Regions from separate parts of the Homo sapiens genome. Here all the other regions are linked to region 2. The links are contacts of gene promoters, found by promoter capture Hi-C in human tissues and cell types (Jung and others, 2019). All regions are on one chromosome and are shown on one strand. Each heading gives the region's core, a stretch centred on a gene start or on the middle of the fragment in contact. The rest is flanking DNA. Distances are from core to core; before and after follow the strand shown.

Evidence for each region. The method cuts DNA at HindIII sites, captures the fragments that hold promoters and counts their contacts. A contact is called where the count stands out against the background at its distance.
Region 1: a fragment that was not itself captured here is called in contact with the fragment with the promoter of SHISA6 in region 2 in 5 of the 25 tissues and cell types used here (dorsolateral prefrontal cortex, heart right ventricle, hippocampus and 2 more).
Region 3: a fragment that was not itself captured here is called in contact with the fragment with the promoter of SHISA6 in region 2 in 3 of the 25 tissues and cell types used here (dorsolateral prefrontal cortex, lymphoblastoid cells and thymus).

Annotation. Positions count from the first base shown.
Region 1 is chr17:11,280,355-11,284,557 of GRCh38, reverse strand. All of the region lies in intron 2 of SHISA6 (shisa family member 6), which reads right to left. Among named protein-coding and RNA genes, the nearest start is that of SHISA6, 41 kb to the right of the region's middle. The HindIII fragment of the contact is 3,054 bases long and covers 1-2,782 here.
Region 2 is chr17:11,238,408-11,243,210 of GRCh38, reverse strand. It overlaps SHISA6 (shisa family member 6), which reads right to left and starts at 1,998. Exons shown (of 6, transcript NM_207386.4): 1 at 1,151-1,998. The coding sequence starts at 1,788. The HindIII fragment of the contact is 17,378 bases long and covers 1-4,803 here.
Region 3 is chr17:11,299,142-11,303,418 of GRCh38, reverse strand. The region is part of intron 2 of SHISA6 (shisa family member 6); the gene reads right to left. Among named protein-coding and RNA genes, the nearest start is that of SHISA6, 60 kb to the right of the region's middle. The HindIII fragment of the contact is 4,566 bases long and covers 84-4,277 here.

The sequences.
Region 1 (4,203 bases), core at 6-2,505, 42 kb before region 2:
TACCTACCTAGTAGTCAATTTGTCTCCCTCCTTCCCTGCCAATAAATTCCACATTATTTGGGGCAGCAATATATGTGCAGCTAAATGAGGGTCACTGACACTGCCCTTCTCCATTCCTGTTGCCTGGAATGTAGATAAAAAGCCTGGAGCTCGGGCAGCCATGTTGCAATCATGAGGTAACAAGCATAAAGATGGAAGCCAACCCTGTAAGGATGATGGAAGAGAAGATGGAAAACATCTGGTTCTCTGAAGGTGTTGCTGAGCAACTAAACCAACTCCAGAAATTGCCTACTTTGGGACTTTTGACTAGGTGAGAAAATCAACCTTTATTTGGTTAAGCCAAATAAAGTCTTCAGTTTTCTGTTACTTGAAGTTGAACATAATCCCAAATGATATGAATCATTTCCTTACTTTTTACTAGATGAGGTAGGGGGAGGATTGTGCATGCCTACGTGTTTGTACAAGTGCATGTAAATGTGTGTATGTCTGTGTGTGTGGTTTTGAGGTAGTAGTATTAGAGTCAGTTTTCTAATGGAGGCTTTCCTGTGAAGTGTAAGAATTTCCAAACAAGGAAAACTTAGGAGAACTAAAAAGGAACTGGGGAACAACAACCTACCAAAAAAACTATCAAGTCTGAAGCGCAAAGCACACAAAAAGCTTCAGCTAAACAATTCTATAGATTATTTTCCAATATGCCTCCTTAATAGCAATAGAAGCAATATAAGAGATAAGTTTCTCCACAGCACAGAACAGAACTGGAATTTTCCCATTAGTCACTAAAGTTTTCTGCTCTTGAAATCCAAAACTGCACCTTACTTTCATTATATGCTTCTTCCCTGTTCCAACAATAAAGGTGGCTGGCATCTGCAACGTTACATGACATCTATGCATTAGAAAATATTTACTGAGTTCATATGGCATGGTGCTAGGGTTATATATAAGCTTTGTGCAGTATCTGCTGACACCACTTTAATGTAATTGGCTTATTTTCCTTAATTCAGATTCAAAAGAACAGAAAAATTAGCACGTGCATGCATTTATTCAACATGAGGCTTTAGACCCACTTAATTTTAATTCTGTAGTAGACAAGTGGCTGTGCTTTAATAGAGGCAGGATGGAGAAATAGAAAGAAAATCAGACCTTGAATCAGAAAACTTGAGTTGAAGTTTTGGTTTTAATATCCACTGGTGTGCAATGGTAGACAAATTGCTTAAACCTCCTGAATCTCCTTACAGAATCACCTATTAAATGGAAACAATTACTTCTTCTTCAATAGATTCATATGATGATTAACTGATACATATATACATTTACAAACTATGTACATATATAGTTGCTTTCAAAGAGTGCTATATAAATGCAATTTATTGCATATTTTGTCTAAAAGAGCAGTAAGTATCAGTTAATATTCATGTGGGCACACTTAATAGAGTTGAATCCTGCGAAGTTAAGAGATTATGACTTCACTTATCAAATGAAAAACTTGAAGATTGGGTTGGGACAATATCTAGGTCTGGTGCTCCAAATTCAATGATCTTTACACTTCGCTAGATCAATGAAACTATCCTGGAGCAAATCATATACAAACAGCAGGACTGTTTTTTAATGTAAACCTATTTTGAGCTCTCCACTCTATAAACCTGAATGTGGAATGTGGTTTTGGGGAAAATTGGAGTGAATGATTCCATCTAAATCCCAGTTTGCAGGCTCAAGTCTAAGTGAGGGCTCCTCCTCCCACTTGCTGCTTGGCAGCTGCCCCTCTGGGTTGGGGCTGGACAGATGCTTATTCATTTGTCTCTCCGGGTTACAATGGTGAATATGCAGTGTGATAGCAGATGGAATACCATGTATCTGGATGAAGCTGGAAACCAGCATTCTCAGCAAACTATCACAAGGACAGAAAACCAAATACCGCATGTTCTCACTCATAGGTGGGAATTGAACAATGAGAACACTTGAACACAGGGCTGGGAACACCACACACTGGGGCCTGTCGGCAGGTGGGGGACTGGGGGAGGGATAGCATTAGGAGAAATACCTAATGTAAATGATGAGTTGATGGGTGCAGCAAACCAACATGGCACATGTATACCTATATATCAAACCTGCATGTTGTGCACAGGTACCCCAGAACTTAAAGTATTAAAAAAAAAAAAGAAGAAATACCACGTATCTAGTCCAAATCCTTTGCTCTCTTGCCCCTTCCCTACCTTCTATGGAGAAAGAACTTTCGATCTTGTTGAATCGCCTCTAGAACTCTACTCTGATGTTAAAAATCTGGGCAACAAGTGAATAAGAGAACTATGCAGAGCAAGAGTGTCTGCTGATTTACATAGTAAAGAGAGGTGGTAACACCTGCAGACGCACTTAGGTTAAGTTTGGGGACCTCTTTTGAAAAAGGAGTATTTGGGGAAGCAGCTTCTGTGGCTATGAAAGGCATTGAGAGTGAGGAAGATGAGGAAAGGTTTTGTAAAGATAATTTGGCCTATGCCACAAATGTATCATAGATCCCTTTGGATTTTCTTCCAAGAGACCAAGCAAAGATTGAAATTGCTCTTAAAAGAGAAAAAAAAACTTTTATGCATTTGACCATTGCTTACTTAAATGTCACATCAACGCAAGATAGCCAGCTGAAGTCACTCTTGCTTTGTGTGAGTTATATTTTGAGAATGTTCTAGGATCAGTGATGTTTTCAAGTACTTTTTAGTCATGCTTGGTTGTTCCTGAAAGAAACAGATACCCTGAATAGCTTTACACTTATTTTAAAAATTGAACTTGTAGTTTAAAATCTTCCTACAAAAAATAAACAAAAATTCTAGGCATTGATGCCTTCACTGGTAAAGTTCTATAAAAATTCTTCCACAAAATTGAGAGAAAAAAACATTTTTCGGCATATTTTATGAGGTCAGCATTACTCTGATACCAAACCAAAATGACAAGAAAACAGAACTATGGACCAATATGCTTTATGAACATAGACACAAAAAGTTCTTAACAAAATTTTAGCAAATAAAATATAATAATATATAAAAATGGTAAGATATTATGACCAAGTAAGATTTATCTTTGGAATGCAAGGTTAGTTTAACATTTGAAAACCAATCAATGTAATTTTCCATGTTAACAGGCTAAAAGGAAAAACTGTATCATCATCTCAACAGATACAAAAGATGCACTTGACCCAATCCAATATCCACTCCTCATAAAAACTCTCCACAAACTAGCTATTAATGAAAACTCTTCCTATTTGATAAAGGGCATCTCCAAAATACATAGAACTAACATCACAATGCAAAAGACTGCTTTCCCCCTAAGATTAGAAAATAAGTTGTCACCACTTTGACTGTATGTTATACATGATATATTATATACATCCTTGCTGGAGCAATAAGGCAAGAAAAAGAAAAAAAGGCATCTAAATAATAAGGGAAGAAGTAAAACTAGCTTTACTTGCAGATGGTATAATTGTTTGTAAAAATTCTAAAAATCTATGAAAAAGCTAATAAAACTGATAGGACTATGCAAGTTTGTAGGACAAGGTGTTTATATAAAAAGCAATTGTATTTTTATATACCACCAATAAACAATCAGAAATTGAAATGCTCAGTTCTTTAAGAAGGTGATTATGAATGCGAATGTAAACACCACTATCATGATGTTGTCTCAAGAATTCCCTTTGAACAAATCCTGCCATTCAAGGCCTCCATTTCTATTTCCAGCCCTCTTCTCTAACTTGCTCTCATGCCATTCAACCCATTGAGCACGCTGCTTCAAAAGGGGAGATCTATTCCCTCTCCTATGAGGCCTGATGTTTCTACCCTGATAGTTTTCCTTAAATCAACCCATTCCTATCTTGGTCTATTCCTCCACAGCTTTCTGACCATTCAAGTCTTATTTACCCTTAAAGGTCATAGTCAATATCCAACAGCTCTCAGGCTACCTTCTTGAACATTTGAACCTCTGGCACTAGGCCTGGTATGCAGCAGGCACTCAACAAAGCTCAAGAGAGTGAATGAACTTTCAGCATGCTCCTATTTATGTGGATGTCCATATACAATTCTCATCTGTACTCCTGAATTCATGCTAGTCTACCTGTTGTATTGCAACCTCTCTCGCCAGACGCCTACATGCAGCACCTTATTCTTAAGGATAATAAGTGAACATTTCCATAATCAGTCTTGTACATATTTTAAATCCTTACAC
Region 2 (4,803 bases), core at 749-3,248:
CGGTTTTCAGGTGGTAAGAATAACAAGCAGGACGCAGAGAAGAGCTCAAGGTGAATGGGTCAGTGTGGGGGCCTGCAGGACTGACTGACAAGCAGTGGTCTGGGGGGTGCTCATGGTGACTAGGGCAGTGCCCACACCATGCAACAGAAATGGAGGCATCTCCCGGGGCAGGGTTTGTTCCCTGAGAGGACTCTTGCACCATGTCCAGCCATCCATCAACATGAGGGGACAGGAAGCCGAGCTAACTCTGCATCCTCTGGGTGTGTCATTCCTAGAGTTCTAAGGGGAGGCTGGGTTTCTGTCATCCCCTTGGCTTTGACTTCCCCAAGGGCTCACTGGGGGGCAAGATGGTGCGTCGGGGCAGCATTCAGCGTGCAACCAGGGACTGCCATAGTTTGAGCTCTTGGCGTAAGTTTTGGTAGGAGGCAGCTCCCACTGTCTTTCGAACGTAAGCAGTGAAAGATGCCCCACCAGGTTTAACACAGGCGAGTACTGTTAACTCAGAGTTCTGCCTACAGGGTTTCAAAGAACGAGTCCTCTAGTCTCAGCAGGAAAGATAAACATCCCACTCCGCAGGATGCAATGAGGAGACACCATCTGTGCTTGGTCAACATGGAATGGAGAAATCTTTATCCCTACTTCCGGCAGGAGGCATCCTTTCTATAAAACCCCAATTCCTAATGTACGAGAACATCTCAGTTGACCCTAAGCCACTTGGTACCGCTTTCAGTAAGGTTCCAACATTGGTCAGTTTCCTATATTGAAGATGACACTCTGATTTGACTCAAAAAACTAAATGCCATTAAGAACCTACACCAAAGTGCCCTCATGCCAGGAAAGCAGAACCCTGGATCCTCATCCACGATTACAGAATTTGTAACATTCTTACACTTGGAACTTCATGCACTCAACCAATTCTTACTCTGCCTTGTAAATCCCCCTACCACCAAAGCATGCATTCCCGGTTCTGAAGAAATGGAGGAGGGGGCACAAGAAGACCCTGATTTATTGCATGCAAAAGGAGCGATGGTGGAAATGACTAGAGGGCCTGGGGAGGTGTGATGATGCCGAGAGTGAAGAGGACAGGGGAAGCAAGCTGAGAGGGTGAGGCCGCGGGGAGACCGGGGCGCGCGGCACGCGGCGCTCTCACCTGTGGATGTTCATCTCCCGTGGAGGGCGGTGGGCCTTGTCGTAGGAGACCTTGGCGAAGACGCCGGCCACGATGACGAAGGCGATCACCCCGCAGGTGATGTAGACGGTGAAGTTGGTCTTGTCCTTCTCCGGGTCGTACTTGTTCTCGGGCCCCGGCGACACCACCTTGGTGCTGGGCGTCTGTACCCACACCGGGCTCTGGTAGTTGGTGCACTGGCGCTGGTCCAGCTTCTCGTGGCGCTTCTTGCAGCAGAAGCGGTAGTAGCAGGTACCGCAGCAGTACAGGTAGCCGCTCTCGCTGTTGTTACACTCGAACTCCTTGTCGTACTGGCCGCTCACGTCGTAGTAGCCCCAGCACGTCTCGTAGGTGACGGCCGCGCTGGCCGCCGCCGCCACAGCCGCCGCGGGCTGCCCCCGCCGGCTTCCCGCCTCCGGGATTCCGGGCGCCCGGGCGGTGCCGTTCAGCTCGCGGCCGCCCCGTGCCAGGGCGCCCCCGGCCCTCCGGCCCCCGACGGCAGCGCCGCCTGCACTCAGGGTCCGGTTGGCGGCGCGGCCGCGGGCTCCGTGGACGCTGGGCAGCAGGTCCAGGGACTCCAGCGAGAGCAGCAGCAGCAGCAGGAGGCGCCGCAGCGCCATGGCGGGGCCGGGCGGGAGGGCGCGGGGAGGCTTCCGCGGCAGGCCGCTCCCCCGGCGGGCCGGGCTCGGAGGACCCGCCGCGCGGGCCGGGCTGGAGGCGCTGAGCGGTCAGCGGCTCCGGGGCGATGGCGCCATCGAGGCGCGGGCGGCAGTGGCGGCGGCGGCGCGCGGTGCGCACGGACCGGCCCGGCGCGGGCTGCTCGGGCTCTCAGGCTGCGCGCCGGCTCCGCGCTCCCCCTGCGGGCTCGGCGCGCCTCCTGGGCAGCCCCATCCCCCGCCGGCGGTGACTGCGGCCCCGCGCGCGGCTCGGCTCAGGCAGGACCCGAAGCGCGGCTCCGGGCGGCGGCGGCGGCGGCGGCGGCGTGGTCCCGTCCGGGCGGGTCCTGCGGGACAAGACGGGGAGCCGGTCACGGGGTGGGGCGACTGGCGCTCCGGGAGCAGGAGGAGAACCGCGGGCAGGCGGGCGGGGAGGGTGCGCGCAGCCCTCGAGGAGAGAGACTCGGAGCCGGGAGGGGCGTAGAGCCCGCTCCCAAGACGGGGTCCCGCGGCCCTGCGCGCCTGGAACCGAGAGCGCACGGGCCGCCCCTCCAGGCGCAGCTCGGCCGCCCGGGTCCCCCAGCCGCCCGGCCCCGCAGCGCGCTCCCGCCGCAGGCTGGCTCCCTGGGACGGAGCCGGTTGAGGCTGGGGTCCGGCGGCGAGCCGGGAGAGCGCGCGGCGGCTGGACCTCACTCACTCACCATGCCCGGCTGCGACTGCAGAGGCGGCGGCGGCGGCGGCGGCGGCGGCGGCGGGGCGAGGCGGGAACGCAGCTGCCGGAGCGAGCGAGCGGAGAGCCGCCGGCTCGCCGCCTGCACTAGTGCCGGAACGTGTGCGAGAGTGAGCGAGGGAGACACACGCACTCACACACCCGCACACACGGGAGCGCCGCGAGGGGAGGGGGGACAGGGGAGGGGAGGGCAGCCGCTCTCCGCCACCCACGTTTGCACGCCCGGGCGCTCAGGGTGCGGGGCGGGGGGGACTCCTTTTCGCTTCTTCCGGATCGCAGCAGTTGAAGCTCCGCGTCACGAAAGCTCCGGACAGCAGTTATTCGACACGGCGAACCCGGCGGGCGAAGAGGGGGCCGGGAGCAGGGCGGAACGTCCGCTCTGCAGCCGGCCCGCGGCAGGGACTGACCTCCCCTGCCATTGCCTTCTCTAGCCTTCGCGACCAGTCCCCACCCTACCGGAGCCCGGGGCAGCGCGCTGCCTGAGCGGGAGTTGGGGTTTCTGCAAGCCTTTGCCTCTCCCTAGTGGTGATACTCGCAGCCAGGAGAAGAGGTCAAACCCATTGCTACAGGTTCCCAAACTGAGTCCAGGGGTCAAGTGGCTTGTCTGAGGCTGTTGGGCGACCCGTGAGCTGAGCCTACACTCTCTTCCCCTTGGTCACTCTTTCCCCAACCCCGTACCCACTACGCATAAAGGCGCTAGACAGCCCCAGGACTGGATGGCAACTCTTTGCTATACTTTTTTTTTTCCCCGCGGAGCCTCGAGGCCATTAGAAAGCTATCTGAACCTCTGAGACTCAGCTTTGTAACCCCTGTGTTGAAATCTCTGTGCTGCAGCTCCTATGGGAGGTGAGGAGGATGGGGGTGCAGGGCGGGGGTGCTTTCCGGGGTAGTTGCGTGTCTGGGTCTGTGGAAAGGAGGCCTGAGTCTAACTTTCACAGCTACGAGGCCATCCCAAAAGAGAATCATAGTACCATCCTTGGCGTGTGTCCTTGGAGGAGGTAGGGGGAACTGAGAACAAAAAGCGATGGCCAAGGCCAAGATTCTGCCTGCGTGACCAGCGTGCTTTGGTTGAAGGCAGGGAACTGAAGGCAGGGAACAGGCTGTCAGAGCGAGGGCGGTAGAGAATTTTCCCTGAGACTTTCTGTTCAGTCCCACTCATGTGTGACCTAAACAAGGGATCCCTATCCAGGAACAGAAGAGTTCCTCTTTTGGGAACCGTGGAATGGATATATTAGAGCTCGAACTCAGACTCCAAGACACAAGAGGGAGATCCTGATATTGACTAGGGGGTGGGGTGGGGGGCGGTGCACAGACTATCCCCGCAGCTCCCCACTTGCTACTGTCTCCATTCCCTCCCTCTTCCTCTGCACTTCCTCCCGTTCCCTTAACTTCTCAGTTGCCACCTTCTTCTTAAAGATTCTGTCCAACAAACATTTGTTTAGTGCCTACTCCCTGCCAGCAGAATGAATAAGAGAGTCCCTTTCCTCAAGGAGGGGGACCTTGTAGACCATTAGGGAGACAGATAAACAAATGATTTCCACATGGCAAGGTTACGTCTCATGATAAAGGCGGGCAGGGTGCTCTGAGAGCAGAAGACAGGCACCCAGCCTAGGCCTGCAAGGGGACAGATGGGGGTCAAATGTAGCTTTCTCAATGAGGTAGAGCAGAATCTTGAAGAATGGATTACGAGTTAATACAGCAAGCAAGAGGGGAAGGAGGCTCCCAGCAGAGGGAACATCCTTAGCAGAACCAGAAAGACAGGAAGTGGTTAAGGTGTGTGAGCAGGGATGCAAGCAGTTTAGCGTGAACCCTGAGGGAGTCTTCCAAATAAGGCTAGCAGGAGGGTATTGAATCCTCCCTTGCAAAGAACTTGAATTTATTCTACAATTGCTGGGGAACTGTTGGTGGGTTTTAATCAGGAGAAGACACTGTCAGTTTTACATGTTTGCTGGATCTCTGAGTCAAATGGAGTAGGGAACACTGGACTGGACGCAGGAAAAGCAATTTGGAAGCTGTCCTGATAATACAGGTAAAAAATGATGAAGGGATGCAGTAGATTACTGGGAGTTGATGCCCACAGTGGAAATAAGCATGGCTGAAAAAGCAGGTTCAGGACAGAGTTAGCAATAGTCGTGTTGTGGTTCCTTTGAGAGAACTAAGTGGAGCTGTCCTGCACAAGAATTGCAAGCTCAGAAGAGAAGATAAGACAGGCATATACATTTGGGAATCATAAGAACATATTTGAAGAC
Region 3 (4,277 bases), core at 1,117-3,616, 60 kb before region 2:
TCACAACCAGACACAATCACACACACAACCACACTCAGAATCATGCACAAAACACCACACACAACCATACTCACGACCACACATAACCAATCACATACATTCACAACTATACACACAACCATACAACTGCACATAAAACCACACACATACTCACAACCACAATCACACAACCACACTCACAATCACACTGAATCTTACACACACACACACACAAAACCACACAAGCACACACACTCAAACATAACTACACTGGTAATCACACACAAAATCACACACTGATACGTACACACACACAGGTAATCACAATTGTGTATGTATCACACAATCATACAAGCACATAGGCTGCTCACTGCACTGCACTGCACTGGGTTGGGGGCGTCATCACACTACTCAGTCAGACGTCTTTCTTTCCCAGGAGCCCTCCACACCCCATGCTACAGCCCAGCTTGATGGGAAATGACAAAGCCATCAGCCTTCAATGAAACTCCAGCAGAACCTGCAGGAAGTCTGTTTCATCTAGAAACCTCTCATTTCAAACGCCCCCCTCCTCTCCACCTGGATGACTCTCTGCTTTTTCCCCCACCCCCATATTGTTTCTATAGCAACCTCGGTCCCTGGGTAGGGCTGTTGCTGAGAGCTGCAACCCTTCGGGTCTGCCCTCTTGGCCCTATATGTGAAATGGTTGGATCACAAATCATCTTCCTGCTAGGACCTAAGCAGGACTTCCAATGTTGGAAGCAAAAGACGGCTTGGACTGGTCCAGATGTTCCAGAGGCCACCAATGCACTCAGGCTATTTCCTCAACATCTGCTTCTCTCCCTCTCTCTCTTGCTTTTCAAAAGCTTAGGCCTGGCAAGGAAATGCTTGCCTGTTTCTGGCACGTTCATGTACCAGATGTACCATCCCCTTATTGCAATAAAATACAGGCAGATGCATAGGTGACCACGTAAAAAATGAGCTGAGAAAAGATCTGGATGTCCTGGGACCTGGATTCTGGACACAGGTCAGCCACTTTCTGGCTGCTGGACCTAAGAGCAAATTCCTCATGTGCAGAATAAGAACTTTATACTGGACAAACTTAGGAGGTTCCTTCCAGCATAACATTTTGTGGTCTATTTCACTCTCTACAACTCCTCAAATTTTGCTGTCAGGAAACTGAGCCTGACAAAATTTGAATTCTTTCAGAAAACTCCAACAGAGGCCTAAAGTTAAGCTCTAGGCCTGATATGGTTTGGCTGTGCCCCCACCCAAATCTCAATTTGAATTGTGTCTCCAAGAATTCCCATGTGTTGTGGGAGGGGCCCGGAGGGGAGGTAACTGAATCATGGGGGCCGGTCTTTCCTGTGCTATTCTCATAATAGTGAATAAGTCTCACAAGATCTGGTGGGTTTATCAGGGGTTTCCGTTTTTGCTTTTTCCTCATTTTCTCTTGCCGCCGCCATGTAAGAAGTGCCTTTTGCCTCCCACCATGATTCTGAGGCCTTCCCAGCCATGTGGAACTGTAAGTCCAACTGAACCTCTTTCTCTTCCCAGTCTCTGGTATGTCTTTATCAGCAGTATGAAAACGGACGAATACAAGGCTCCTAAAGCCAAAACCATGCAAAGGGAGAGGACCCCTACAGCTGGCAGTTTCCCCTTATGAGAAATCTCTCCTTGAAGGAGTCACACCTGCATTCCCATCCTTTCTACCGGCATGACATTGACTTGGGGATCCACAAGGACACACCTAGATTGCAGGAACGTTCATAGGAAATGCAGTAAGAGTGGGAAGTTTTCTGGAAGCTGCCTCTGGCTGGAGGAGGCAGGAAGGAGGGGAACGGCAAGGAGGTTGACTGAAGGACGCCTGGAAGAGAAAGACTCATTCATGCACGGTGTGACCAGAGTGGGGAAAGCCTTTATCACAGTTCTCTGGTCAGCACCTTTGCAAAGGAGTGAATTTAGGAAGATACTGACCCAAAGTGCTGCAATCATTTGGACTAGAGCTCATTAGGCCCTAGCAAAGCCCGGAGCCCCCAAAGAAGTGGAAAATTAGAAAGACAAATAAAGGTCAATGTACCATCCCCTTATTGCAATGGAATTATTTACCCACCTGGGGAATTTGATGCCTGGAGAATGTGTAATTAATGGTCCTGGGGGCTGCAACGCACCCAGGAGATAAACAGTGCAACTTCAACTTGAGGGTCCAATGCTCCCCACCCCAGTACCCACCACTACATCATAGGCTGTTAGGGAGGAAGAAAACTAGTGAGGGTTCCAGCTGCATTAAAGGGGTCTGCTACCGGGCTCAGCACAGGCAGAGAGGCTCTGACAGCTAGACGTGGAAGGCCCACAGTGAAGCTGAGCACGGGACTCCACGCAGCTGTACTGGAGAAGTTCTTTTGCTTCAGGCCTTGCAAAAAAACTCTTTAAACGTGTTTCCCTTGACTGGTATTAAAGGCTGTTTGTTTTCTCTTCTGTGTGAACATGTTGTGATTTTCTCTCCCCCCACCCCATACAGGGCTGAACAATTACAGTATGTTCTTGAAGCACAAGCAGATGGGGCGGGAGGGTGGGGCTGTGTTCCCCCATGTGCTCCACCTCCCTTCCCTACCACCCAAACTGAAATTATCAACTAGCATTTCACAAAGAGCCAGGTTCCTGGCCAGTATGCCGGGGAATTGAAATAAGAAGCCTGTTTTTCCTAGAGCCATCTCTTATGAAGGGGTAATATTTAAACCCACAGTCACTGAATTACAAAAAAAAAAAAAAAGAAAAAGAAAAAAAAGTCCTAAACTGGCAAAAAGGGAATTCTCTCCCAAGAAGGGCACACAGGCTTGCCACAACTCACTCTCTAAAAGCTCACTGGTGCCACGGGTGTCTTGGATGTGACACCCAGATGAAAACTTAGAGATCAAAACTGAAAATGGCCCACAGGCTTCATCGTGCCTGACAGTTCGGGTCAACTGACAGGGCTGCCTGGAAAACAGTGTTGAGAAGGATTCTAAGATGCACTCGGATTCTGAAGGAAAGAGGGCTGCAGTCAGTTGCCAGTGCTCCATGGACACGAAGAGAAGGGCAGTGGCTTGCATGCCCCATGTTTGCCCATCCTAAGTCAGTACGGCACAGTGGTGCCCAGGGCCCAGGTCTACACTGGTTGGGAACTCATGCTTCGGGTATTGTGGTAAACAGAAAAATGCCTCCCAAAGATATCCACATCCCAGTCCTTAAACCTGTGAAGGTGTTGCCTTTCTTTTTTTCTTTTTTCTTGTTTTTCTTTTTTTTTTTTTTTTGTTTTAAGATGGAGTCTTGCTCTGTCGCACAAGCTGGAGTGCAGTGGCGTGATCTCAGCTCACTGCAACCTCCACCTCCCAGGTTCAAGCGATTCTCCTGCCTCAGCCTCCCAAGTAGCTGGGACTACAGGCACATGCCACCACGCCCAGCTAATATTTTGTATTTTTAGTAGAGATAGGGTTTCACTGTGTTAGCCAGGATGGTCTTGATCTCCTTACCTCGTGATCTGCCCACCTCAGCCTCCCAAAGTGCTGAGATTACAGACGTGAGCCACCGCACCTGACCTGAAGGTGTTGCTTTTCATGGCAAAAGGAACCTTGCAAGTGGGATCAAGTTAAGGTTCTTGAGATGAGGAGACCACCCTGGATTGTGTGGGTAGGCCCACACGGGATCCTTATAAGTGGACACAGGTTGGTCAGAGTCAGAGAGAGAAGGTGATGGGATGGGGAAAACAGAGATTGGAGTGATGCACTTTGAAGATGCAGGAAAGGACCGTAAGCCAATGAATGCATATGGCCTCTAGAAGCTGGAACAGGCAAGGAAATCGATTCTCCCCTAGAGCCTCCAGAAGGAACCAGCCCTAACATATCTTGACTTCAGCCCAGTGAAAGCTATTTTGGACTTCTGGCCCAGAAATGTAAAAGAATAAATGTGTGTTGTTTTAATCACAGGGAATAAATTTGTGTTGTTTAAATCTGCGGTAATTTGTTTTAGCAGTTAATAGGAAATGAATACAGCATGTTACTTATTCTCTGTGTCTCAGTTCCTGCATTGAAAAAAAAAACACCAGAAATAGTAATATCTACCTCTGATGGAGCTTTCAGGACAATTAAATGTAATATAATGTATGTAAATCACTTAGAATAGCATCTGGCACCCAGTAATTCTCAATAAATATTAGCTATGATTATTCCGATCCAACTGCTTTATTTTATGGGGGAGAACATTAAAATCCAGACAGAGAATAGAATGTACTAGAGGTCACAATGACACAATGAAGAAATGTG